Linked DNA regions of Homo sapiens: regions 1, 3 and 4 are each linked to region 2. Evidence: promoter capture Hi-C in 16 types of primary human blood cells and fetal thymus (Javierre and others, 2016). All regions are on one chromosome and are shown on one strand. The core of a region is centred on a gene start or on the middle of the fragment in contact, and the rest is flanking DNA. Distances in the headings are between cores, read along the strand shown.

What was found. The method cuts DNA at HindIII sites, captures the fragments that hold promoters and counts their contacts. A CHiCAGO score of 5 or more calls a contact.
Region 1: a contact is called between a fragment that was not itself captured here and the fragment with the promoter of EMC7 in region 2, in 4 of 17 cell types (activated CD4 T cells, total CD4 T cells, total CD8 T cells and 1 more). The highest score is 7.3, in activated CD4 T cells.
Region 3: a contact is called between the fragment with the promoter of LPCAT4 here and the fragment with the promoter of EMC7 in region 2, in 2 of 17 cell types (neutrophils and non-activated CD4 T cells). The highest score is 8.4, in neutrophils.
Region 4: a contact is called between a fragment that was not itself captured here and the fragment with the promoter of EMC7 in region 2, in 2 of 17 cell types (fetal thymus and activated CD4 T cells). The highest score is 8.3, in fetal thymus.

Annotation. Positions count from the first base shown.
Region 1 is chr15:34,442,440-34,445,227 of GRCh38, forward strand. No RefSeq gene overlaps it. Among named protein-coding and RNA genes, the nearest start is that of GOLGA8A, 6.0 kb to the left of the region's middle. The HindIII fragment of the contact is 1,853 bases long and covers 499-2,351 here.
Region 2 is chr15:34,100,350-34,103,124 of GRCh38, forward strand. EMC7 (ER membrane protein complex subunit 7) reads right to left here and starts at 1,513. Exons shown (of 5, transcript NM_020154.3): 1 at 1,255-1,513. The coding sequence starts at 1,490. PGBD4 (piggyBac transposable element derived 4) reads left to right here and starts at 1,734. Exons shown (of 1, transcript NM_152595.5): 1 at 1,734-2,775. The coding sequence starts at 2,183. RefSeq lists enhancers at 657-1,514, 1,124-1,823, 1,854-1,943. The HindIII fragment of the contact is 6,792 bases long and covers 141-2,775 here.
Region 3 is chr15:34,365,946-34,368,839 of GRCh38, forward strand. It overlaps LPCAT4 (lysophosphatidylcholine acyltransferase 4), which reads right to left and starts at 1,251. Exons shown (of 14, transcript NM_153613.3): 1 at 1,042-1,251. The coding sequence starts at 1,155. RefSeq lists silencers at 656-745, 826-875, 996-1,455, 1,586-1,635 and enhancers at 1,411-2,406, 2,006-2,295. The HindIII fragment of the contact is 20,785 bases long and covers 1-2,894 here.
Region 4 is chr15:34,595,229-34,598,197 of GRCh38, forward strand. No RefSeq gene overlaps it. Among named protein-coding and RNA genes, the nearest start is that of GOLGA8B, 13 kb to the left of the region's middle. The HindIII fragment of the contact is 960 bases long and covers 909-1,868 here.

The sequences.
Region 1 (2,788 bases), core at 175-2,674, 340 kb after region 2:
AAACAGAGTATACAAGTGTATCTTGGTTCCCTCTCTATCCATCTGTCTCAGCTCATTTTATGCTGCTATAACAGAATACCACAGACTGGGTAATTAATTTACAAAACAGAAATGTATCGGCTCATATTTCTGACAAATTCAGAAGACTAAGAGCATGGCACCAGCATGTAGAGAGGGCTTTCTTACTTCTTCATCTTATTTCTTCATGTTATGGAAGGCAAAATATGAAAAGATGAAAAGTGACAATGTACAAACCGTGTATGTATGTGTGTATGTACCTAAAGGTCCCACTTCTCACCACTGTAGCATTGGTGACTGATTAAGTTCCTAATACATGAACTTTGGGGGACACATTCAAACTATAACCCCATCTGATTATTCGTAGAGTTCTCAACAGATCTCAGGCAGAAGGCTTTTTGATAGGTCCAGCCCTTTATCAATTGTAGATAATTAGAAGTGATACACATCTTTACCAGGCTTCACGCCTTCCTTCTGCCAAGCTTACATTCCTAAACATAAAGCACATCCACATTCACTTGAATTTTTCACCTATATTGAACTTCTTGGAATTCGAGGCCTCAAATCAATGCAGAATAAAAGGAGATAACGGTAAATTTGAAGAATTAAATGATCATGACCATTTTTAAGTCAGGTCTTTCGCAATGACCGTGGTCAATAATGGCCAAGACAAATGGAGATGAATTATACATAGAATGAATACATTAAAATGTCATCTACTTTTCTTTCTCCAGAAGGATTCACTGTTCTATGTGCGCCTCTCATCTGCCTTTTTATTAATTAACCTTTCTACTGAAGTCTGGACGATCTCCAACCAGTATTCCTAGTTTGTGGTATTGTAGAAATATATTTTTGTGTTTTAACGAGTCAACAAAGCATTTGTAAGAAATCATCATAAAAATCTATTAAGCATTCATTTTGCATCAAACATTTATTGCGTAAAATAAGCAGATACAATGAAAATTCTTCTTGATGGTGGAAAGGTATCACTGTAAAAAATCATTATCATCTTGGGTTGCAATACAGCAGTAAACACAGAGATTTTGATATATGTAGGACCTATATTGCTGAGCTTAGCTATGCTCTCTGTATTTTGTTTCTTTGCCTTTCTTGTCAAGTTGTCAGCAATCACTTCACACTACTGAAAATATAATTAATTGCCTTTAGCAGTTCCCTCCCTGCTTCTAACCTTATACTTTGAAGCAGAAGCAGAAAATTACTTTGGCTGAGAGTCAGAGCTAACCTGAACGTTGTATTAAGTGGAGGCCAAAAGTTTCTGAAAATGTACTGGGGGCTTTATTCATGGATGAAAGGGTATAAAACCTTTGTTTTATTGATCTGCACTTCCTAATTTTTATACTTACAACCATTGTCCAAAATTTTATATATTGCTTCAGATGTCTTGTATTCCACACCAATGGAAGGTACCGCGTCTTATTCATCCTTCACCTCCAAGTTCCTACCAAAATGCCTGACATATGATAGGTACTTACTGAAAATTGAATGGAACCAACTTACTGATTATCTATTCTCCCTTGGATATCTCACATGCATCTGAAACTTAGTATGTGGGAAACTGAGCTCATTTTCCTTCTTCCATGCTCAACATTGTCTTTTCCCTCCTGTGTTTCCTATTTTGATGAATAGCCCATATTCTCAACCAATTACCTAGGCCAAGAGCCTTGGAGCCAACCTTTCTCTTTTCCCCTCACTACTCACAACTAATTGATAACCAACTGTTGTCTACCCCCTGCCCCCCACAAAAAACAGCAGATTAATCCATGACCTCCTCTCCACTCTCACTGCACTGTCTTGGTCACAGCCGTCACAATTCTTCGTCTGGAATGTAATATCTCCTAATAGTCCTATCCATTCCAATTCACTTTCCAGATTCCTGACAAAAATAATTTTTCTGAAGAGAAATCTGATCATTAAATTTAGCTGATTGATTGCAAAATTAAGTTCTCCATGTTAGAGATGAGAGTTTGGGAAAAAGAAGGCAGCAAGAATTCACAAAGAAGAATAACAGAGATCAGAAAACTATCCACAGAGACAGCTTCAGAGATTTTCAGGGGATGTGCAGATTTATTGAATCTTCCAATTAATACTGATCAACACAAGTATGTGAGGAAATGGTCAAGGCCAGGGTACAAACCACTAGAAAGGGAAGGCAAAAAAGTCTCCAGAATTCACATAAGGTCATAAGTAGTTTGTGTTTCCATTAGCCAGGGTAGAAAATCCTCGAATCAGTTAGAGTACTCAGAAGGATATTGTCTCACTAATGTGGAAACAATTCTATCTAGACTGAAAGGTGCTCTGGTTCTACCAAGCAAAGCTTAAAAGCAAACTTCAACACAAGCAAATTATTCCTAAGTAATTTAACTGCATCCCAGAATAAAGCTTAACTATTCAGCACAAAATAAGGTAGAATTCACTATGTCCAGCATTCGATAAGAATATATCAGGCATAGAAATAGGCAGAAAAATGATACATATTGAAGAGAAAAAAATCAATCAAGAGAAACAGACCCACAATGACACAGTTGCTAAAATTAGTAGATAATGACATTAAAACAGGTATCTATGTTTGAAAAGGTAGAGGAAAGCATCAAATGAGAGACATGAAAGAGAGAGCAAAATGTGAAATCATCTTCTCGGGATTAATCAAACAAACATGGAAACAATGTCTTAGATGAAAACTATACTGGATGAAATCAAAAGCAGATTATCAATTGCAGTAAAAAAACAGTGAATGTAATTGTTTAACAAT
Region 2 (2,775 bases), core at 263-2,762:
AAAAGAAAGATACAATGAAACATTAAGGGTTGTTTTCCTACTTTGTTTCTAATATACTATTTTTAAACAGAAATTAAATGCTTTTTAAAAGAACTGTATACAGAAGAGTGGCCAAATGGTCAATTAAGGCTTATTCCTAAAGCTTAATGAGAACTTTATCATTAAAACATCATTAATTAGGGTAAACTCTAACGAATGCCCTAATGCCAGATTCTTAATGACAGACAGCAGTAAAATACTGGTTGTAAATTTGTCACTATTTATTAATCTGAGGTTGAATAACCACTCAAGGGCACTTAGATGATCTGAACAAATATGTAAATCAGATTTGGATTTAAATGTCTACATTTAAGTTGTCTGATTTTCAGATACCATTTGCTGGTGTACGAACCCACCAAAGGAAATACTTCCTAATTATTTGCTTTCAGTTTACAGTTTCACCTCCAAGTAAGGGTGGAAAGATTTAAAACAACATACGCGTGCCTAGACATTTCAAAAGCAGGCTGCTGCAAAACTAGTGCTAACAAATTCATCCTGTCTTTTAATATAGACAGAAAACCCACTTCCACTAATAGCATGAAAGGACAGAAGCAAGAAAGCAATGTAGAGGAACCCTAGTCTCACATAAATGACAAGTGTGATATAGCAAATCTCTCGATGAATTCAACTGTAAAAAAGAACAACGATCCCACCCCCAAGCAAAAAAAAAAAGAAAAAAAAAGTGCTTTGATTAGGGATTTCAGAGCCTATTAATTTTAGAAGCAGTAACATTAGCCTCCCAGTCTATGTCGTCACTAGAAGCCCTTTGGGTTTTGAGAATTCCCACTTGTGTCGCATCTTTCTACATAATAACAAGCTACCAAAAGACTGAAGTGAATGCAAAAAACGACTAGGTTCTAGGGAAACCAGATGAGATATAAAAGAATCCAACAAGAGACTAATAAGGGTCCACCTGTCCCCAGGGCCCAGGAATGATCGTCCCCACATGGGGCCAAAATAAGGTTGGAAATAACTGACTCCATGCTCTGACCATGGCAGGGGGTGAGCGCCTGCCATGCTCATTCCAGAGGTACAGGACCAGGAAAGGGAAAGCATCCGACTGCCTCCCAAGGTCTCCCGGCATAGACCGTTAGCGGCACCCTCCCCTTCAGTCTGAGACAGCGACGTTGTCCCGTCCTGACACTTAACTCTCCTGGTGGGGTCCCTGTCCGGCCTCCATCCCAGCCTTTTTCCCGCTGCCCTCAGGATGCTCACTTAAGGAAACCGACGTGCTCTTCTCCGTCTACCAGCACTCGGGCCGCCGAGATCCAGTCCTGAGGCTTCACCCCTGGAACAACTGCACGCCCCTCAATCTTGAAGCGATCTCCTATGCCGACCCCACTCCCTCCCGATCCCTCAGCAGCAGCCCCGGGCACCTCCGAGCTCTGGACATCCCCCGATAGCAGCAGCAGCAGCAGGACGGGAAAGAAGCCCCACAGAGCGGCCGCCATGACAGCAGCTCTGCACTCAGACCGGCAGCCCCGGAAGCCCTCCCAGTCTCCCGGCCGCCACCGCCGCCGCTGGCGGCTTGATGTTGTCATCACTGCGCGCCCGTTTCTGTCATAAGCTGTGGGATCCAACCAGAGGGAAGAGATCATGGCCGATCGACTAGCGAGGCGGAAGTAAGGCGGAAGTACTGCCCTTAACTCCCGGCACTCTGGATTGGAAGACGGCGCACAGAGCCTGTGTCAAGTGCCTATGAAGGGGACTGCCCATGAAGTGAAAGTCAAGTGTGTGTTGCTGCGGCAGCCACGGAGGCCAAGGACCTCACGGGAGTAAAAGATGACGAGACTGGCTTCGGGAGAAACACCATCCAGAAGAGACCTTTCAAAAAACTTCTAGAGACTCCCCAAGACGTATGAGATGAAAGGCTTCTTCTGTCTGTGTGCGTTTAACTCATTTCTCCTTAGCCCCGAGATTACGCGCTGCTGTGCCTGCGACTGCAGCGTTTACGCCGAGATAACTCGTGGATTACAGTGCCAACCTTACTCCCAAAGTTTGCCACGAAATATCTCGCTTCTGTTATTTTCGCATGGTTCTGGTATATTGACTTTTGAAACAAAAGACATCATTCTGTTTATAGCATTCTGTTTTTAGTAGTGGGATTTCCATCTACAAAATATAGTAATTCTCGATCGCTGAAATGTCAAATCCTAGAAAACGTAGCATTCCTATGCGTGATAGTAATACCGGTCTCGAACAGTTGTTGGCTGAAGATTCATTTGATGAATCTGATTTTTCGGAAATAGATGATTCTGATAATTTTTCGGATAGTGCTTTAGAAGCCGATAAGATCAGGCCTCTGTCCCATTTAGAATCTGATGGAAAGAGCTCTACATCAAGTGACTCAGGGCGCTCCATGAAATGGTCAGCTCGTGCTATGATTCCACGTCAAAGGTATGACTTTACCGGCACACCTGGCAGAAAAGTCGATGTCAGTGATATCACTGACCCATTGCAGTATTTTGAACTGTTCTTTACTGAGGAATTAGTTTCAAAAATTACTAGAGAAACAAATGCCCAAGCTGCCTTGTTGGCTTCAAAGCCACCGGGTCCGAAAGGATTTTCGCGAATGGATAAATGGAAAGACACTGACAATGACGAGCTCAAAGTCTTTTTTGCAGTAATGTTACTGCAAGGTATTGTGCAGAAACCTGAGCTGGAGATGTTTTGGTCAACAAGGCCTCTTTTGGATACACCTTATCTCAGGCAAATTATGACTGGTGAAAGATTTTT
Region 3 (2,894 bases), core at 1-2,500, 270 kb after region 2:
TTTATAAAACCGAAAGCCATAAAAAGCATCTAGCACTTAGAGGATTTAATAAGAATGCATGCGAAAGTGCAGGGCGCTGTGCTTGATGTACAGTAGGTTAGAGACAGGTCCTCCTCCCCCACATCTTATTCCATAAATAGCTCCTATGCCCAACAGAAACCAGGTGCACAGATCTTTCCACTTTGGGCCTAGGAGGCAGAGGGCTGTAAACAGCCAGAGGTCCAGTTTTCAGACCCGAGGTCATTTTCTGACACTGCTCAACAGCAATCTTAGAGTACCGGGGGATATGGGAGACAAGAGCTCGGCCCCACTCTGCAAGGGAGAGAGGCTGCCAGGAGCCAGGATGACTCCATAGGCTGCCTTGGGGAAGAAGCAGGTAAGCAAACCTAGCCCCTGGAGCCTGCCTCCGGGGAGGTGATGACAGCAGAAACCTTGGACACTCCCTCCCCACACCACCTCCCAGCTCCCCTAGGCTGGCGCGGCCCTCCACTTCCTGTAGCCAACCTCCCTCTCAGCCTCCCTGCCCCCACCGGGAGGTGCTGCAGTGCGGGGTGGAGGGGGGTTGGAGGGAGTGGGAAGAGGGAGTGTAGGAAGGGCACAGGGTCGCAGGCTCCCGGCCCAGAAACGTCTTCCCTCTAAGTCATGCCTCGGAGGAATACTCGGCACGCCCCCGCCCCCGCCCCCACCCCCGGCTTCCCGTAGACTCTAACTCCATCCTAGCCATCAGGCTCTGCAGAATGTAATCCGCATTCCCCAGCGTCCTTCATCTCTCCAACCCCAGGGTCCCCTGCAGCCCTCCATCCCCACCTACTCAGTTTTTCCACATCTTCGAGCTTGTCTATCGCCCAAGCCCGCAGCGTCCTCTCCAGGACTCCTTGCCCAACCGCGGCCGCCCCCACGTGCGCACCCCCGGACTCCCGCTCCGCAAGCCTCTCAGCCATCTCCTTCTCGTGGATCCCCAAGCCCACCTTTGCCAGGGCTCAAATGGCCCCATTTTCCTATCCTCACGGGTCCTTCCGACGCCCGCTCCCCACACATTACCTTAACCCTCTGGAGGCGAGAGAGATGTAACTCATGCACGAAGGGGTTGGGGGATGCTGGGGGTCCGGGGGTGGGATCTAGGGGGGCCCAGTCCCCCGGACTTCCCTGGCTCATGGCGGGAGAAGGTGGGAGGGAGGGCACCCCGGCCCTGGCCCCGGCCACCACTCTGCAGAGCAGCTGCTGCTGCAGCAGCGGCGGCGGCGGCGCTCTGGCCCGGGCCCCGCCCGGTGCAGGCGGCCGAGGGGCGGGGAGCAGGCGGCGCAGCCCAGCCCGCCCGCGTTGTCAGGGCGCCGGCCGAGGGGCGGGGCTTCCAGCGCCCTGGCGCCCCTGCTCCTCCGCGCCCGCCGCGGCGCCCGCAGCCGCTCGGGCCATTGTTCCGCGGCTGCCAGGGCTGGAGCGGGCTGCCCCTGGGCTTCTGCGCCTCCGTCGTTCCTCTCTGAAGACCTGGCCTCCGCCTCGGAGTGGGAGTGGGTCTGGGAGCTGAGCGCAGAGCTCAGAGCGCCCTCTGTCCCCGCCCGGGCGTCGAGGTCACCCAGCAAGCGCAGATCGGGGTGAGGCTCTTGGGTTGGTAGGCAGGGAGGGACAGGTGGGCCGGATGCAGAGGCCGGCAGCTCGCGGGTGAGGCGGCGCCCCGCTCTTCCTATGGGCTCCTTGGCCCGGTCCGCGCCTCCTCGCAGGCGGACCACCTTTCCTTCCCGGTCCGTGGGGCGCCATCGCGCGGGGACTTGAGGCACTTGCGTCCTCTGGCGGCTGCATGGCGCCCCGCAACTCTCCACCTCCGCGTCCTGCCTGTGCTAGGCAGGGCCGCCTTTACTGGTGTGAGGGTTGCTTGAACCCTTGAGGCGCCAGGAATCCCTAGTACACTGACGCATGTGCTTCCCATGAGCCCGACAAGGTCTGGCAGGGGAGAGGCAGTGGTTCCTGATCTCTGTCACTCTCTGGGTGAACGCAGAGGACACAGTAGTAATTCCCCTCACCCACAAGCTCCAAGCTACCCTAGAAAACAAATTGTTTAGCCTCAGGCCATCGTTTGAGATCAGGGACCAGGGAATTAAGTGGACTCTGAGATCCATTGCCATGACAAAAGGGGTAAGAGTCTCATTGCTTGAGGAAAGAATACGCCTTAAGTTCACTTTATGTCTTCTGCCCATTGCATGGCAGTTAGGGGAGCTGAAGGAAGAAAGTGAAAGAAAAAGAGACCTCTCATAACCAAGAGTGTTTGCCGCCACTGGCTTCTCCTTTAAACCAAACTCCAAATTAATCTGCTCCAGGAAATTTTCTGAGCCCAGGCTGAGAGGGTTGAAGGCTCATGCATCCTACTGAGACCAAGGAGCTGCACTGGGATGTTTTTGTATATAACACAGAGGTCCCAACACAAATACATCATTTCCACATTTTATTTTTGTATAGATAGGGTCTCGCTATATTGCCCAGGCTGGTCTCGAACTCCTAGCCTCAAGTGAGCCTCCCACCTCGGCCTTCCAAACTGTTGGGACTACAGGTAGTGAGCCGCCATGTACAACCCAAACCTTTTTTTTTTAAGCAGATGATTTCAGCTTTCTCACCAGAACCGAGAAAGTACAACTGCATGTATTAGTCTCCCTTGCCTTGCCTTTGGGGAGAAGTTTGTGTGTGTGTGTGTGTGTGTGTGTGTGTGTGTGTGTGTGTGTGTGTTTGTCTTTTGTTGTTGTTGTTTTGGGACGGAGTCGCGCTCTTGCTCTGTTGCCCAGGCTGGAGTGCAATGGCGTGATCTCAGCTCGCTGCAACCTCCGTCTCCCGGCTCCAAGCAATTCTCCTGCCTCAGCCTCCTGAGTAGCTAGGATTATAGGCGGGCACCACCACACCCGGCTAAT
Region 4 (2,969 bases), core at 139-2,638, 490 kb after region 2:
TTTAGGCCAGGCATGGTGGCTCAGGTCTGTAATTCCAGCACTTTGGGAGGCCGAGGCAGCTGGCTCACCTGAGGTCAGGAGTTGGTGACCAGCCCGGCCAACATGGCAAAACCCTGTATCTACTAAAAGTACAAAAATTAGCCGGGCATGGTGGTAGGGCCTGTAGTCCCAGCTACTCCAGAGGCTGAGGCAGGAGAATTGCTTAAACCTGGGAGGTGGAGGTTGCAGTGAGCCGAGATCGCGCCACTGCACTCCAACCTGGGTGACAGAGCTAGAGTCTGTCTCAAAAAGAAAAAAGAAATTAAAAAAAAAGAGAAATCTTACTTTTAAGGAAATTTATGGATAATTAATTTATAAAGGTTAATAAGAAAAGTTAATATGTTTAAGAGCAATTTAATGCTTTCCAATTTATCAAATTAGAACTGTACATTTACTCAAAAAGCCCTTTGATAACATCATAAAAAATAATATTGGTCTGGCTGCTCAATAGGTCTGATCTTAAATAGTATTTATAATGTATCAAGGTGAGGCAGAAAATGAAAACAATTTTTCCAGATAATTGGAACTAAAAACACACAGTTATTTAGCATTAATTTTTTCTATTGTGAGAATTTTGGAAAGGAATAAAATCTTTTTTTCCCCCCTGCTAAACTTAGCTTTATTCCCTAAGAAATACAGAAAACACTAGCAAAACATTGAGGTAAAAATACATGCTGACTTTCCACTATACAAACAATGTAAAGGGCTTTCAATTTTTAATAAAAATTATGTGTACCTGTTTTAGTTCATTTGTGTTGCTATAACAGAATACTTGAGACTGGGTAATTTATAAACAAAAGAGGTGTATTTGGCTCACTATCCTATAGTGAGATAGGATAGTGAGTTCCTACCATAGGCTGGGAAGTTTAAGCTTGGGCAGCTGCATCTGGTAGCTTCTAGTAAGGGCCTCATGCTGAGTCAAAGGAAACACAGCGGAGTAATAGAAGGGGAGCTAGGCGCTTTCACAAAAGGGCAAAACACACAAGACGCAAACTCACTTTATAACAACCTATTTTTGGGGAACTAATCTATTCCTGCTAAATTAAACCAGTCTCCAGAAAAAGGTATTAATTCCTCTTAAAGACTTAATCACTTCTTAAAGGCACCACCTCCCAACATTTGCCACATTGGGGGCCAAGCCTCAATGTGAGTTGTGGTGAGGACAAACCATATTCAAACCATAGCAGTAATATTAGACAAGGTTATTCAATCAGCATATATATATATATATATATATACACACACACATACATACACACACACACATATACATATATGTATATGTATATATGTGTATATGTGTATACATGTGTGTATACACAAACACATATATATACACATATACACATATACACATATATACACACATATATACGTATATATATACACACATATATACGTATATATATACACACATATATATACGTATATGTATACACATATATATGTATATATTGTTGTTGTTGTTGTTTGTTTGTTTGTTTGTTTTGAGACAGAGTCTTACCTTGTTGCCCAGGCTGGAATACAGTGGCGCAATCTCGGGTCACTGCAATCCCCACCTCCCAGGTTCAAGCGATTCTCGTGCCTCAGCCAGGCACCACCACGCCCGGCTAATTTTTATTTTTATTTTTTTTAGCAGAGATGGGGTTTCGCCATGTTGGCCAGGCTGGTCTCGAACTCAGGTGATCCGCCCACCTCAGCCTCCCAAAGTGTTGGGATTACAGGCGTCAGCCACTGTGCCCAGCCCAAAGTCAGTATACTTTTATCGAAAGAACTTTACATATTGTGATTCTTTCCACTGACTGTGAAGGTCACCTTAGTTCCTCAAAAGCTTGAGTCATGATTTATCTTCAAGGTAGCCCACAATTCTTTTATTTGGTCTTCATTGATCTCCATTTGAATATGGACATATTGATGACAACCTCAAAAGTTCCCCAACTAGAAATCTTTGGTATCTAATTTTTTTTCTTGAAATTTATTTTAGGATCTGTTTTTTAGTGTCAGAGTAGATAGATCTGCCTGGTTCTTGATTTCAGGACCCTAAGACTCTTAAGAGTCACCTCAAAATGAATGACTTCCAGTCACATTTATTCCTAAGGTGTCATACTCAACAATAGGACAGATGTGTCAGATATGCCAGTACTTACAGTAAAAATAAAAATTATTATTAGGCCACTTGTGCTTCTAGCACTCTATGTTGTAATTCCTTTCCACAGTTCTAACAAAAAGCTCTGTGAATAAAGCAAAACCACAGAGTTACTCTAAAGGTGTTTCCTGTGATGGACATTTAAAATGATTTATTTACTCATCTTTTTTAACTGAGAAGTAAATATTGTATAAATTTATGATGCACATCATGATGTTTTGATATTTAAAGATATTTAAAATATACATTACCTAAAATACTTATTTTTTTCATAGTAAGAACACTTAAAGTTTACTCTGTTAGCAATTGTCAAGCATACAAGATATTGTGATTTTATTTTATTTTATTTTTTATGACGGAGTTTCACTCAGTCCCCAATGATGGAGTGTGGTGGTGCGATCTGGGCTCATTGCAACCTCCACTTTCCAGGTTAAGCGATTCTCCTGCCTCAGCTTCCCGAGTAGCTGGTACTACAGGTGCATGCCACCACACCTGGCTAATTTTTGTATTTTTAGTAGAGACGGGGTTTCACCATGTTGGCCAGGCTGGTCTTGAACTCCTGACATCAAGTAATCCATCCGTCTTGGCCTCCCAAAGTGCTGGGATTACAGCCATGAGCCACCTCTGCGCCTGGCCAGATATTGTTATTAACTATAGTCATCATGATTACAATAGATATCTTGAACTTATTCTTCTTATCTAACTGAAATTTTGTGTCCTCTGACCAAATATTTCTTCAATCCTCAACCTCTAGCTTCTGGTAACTACCAATTTACTCCTTGTT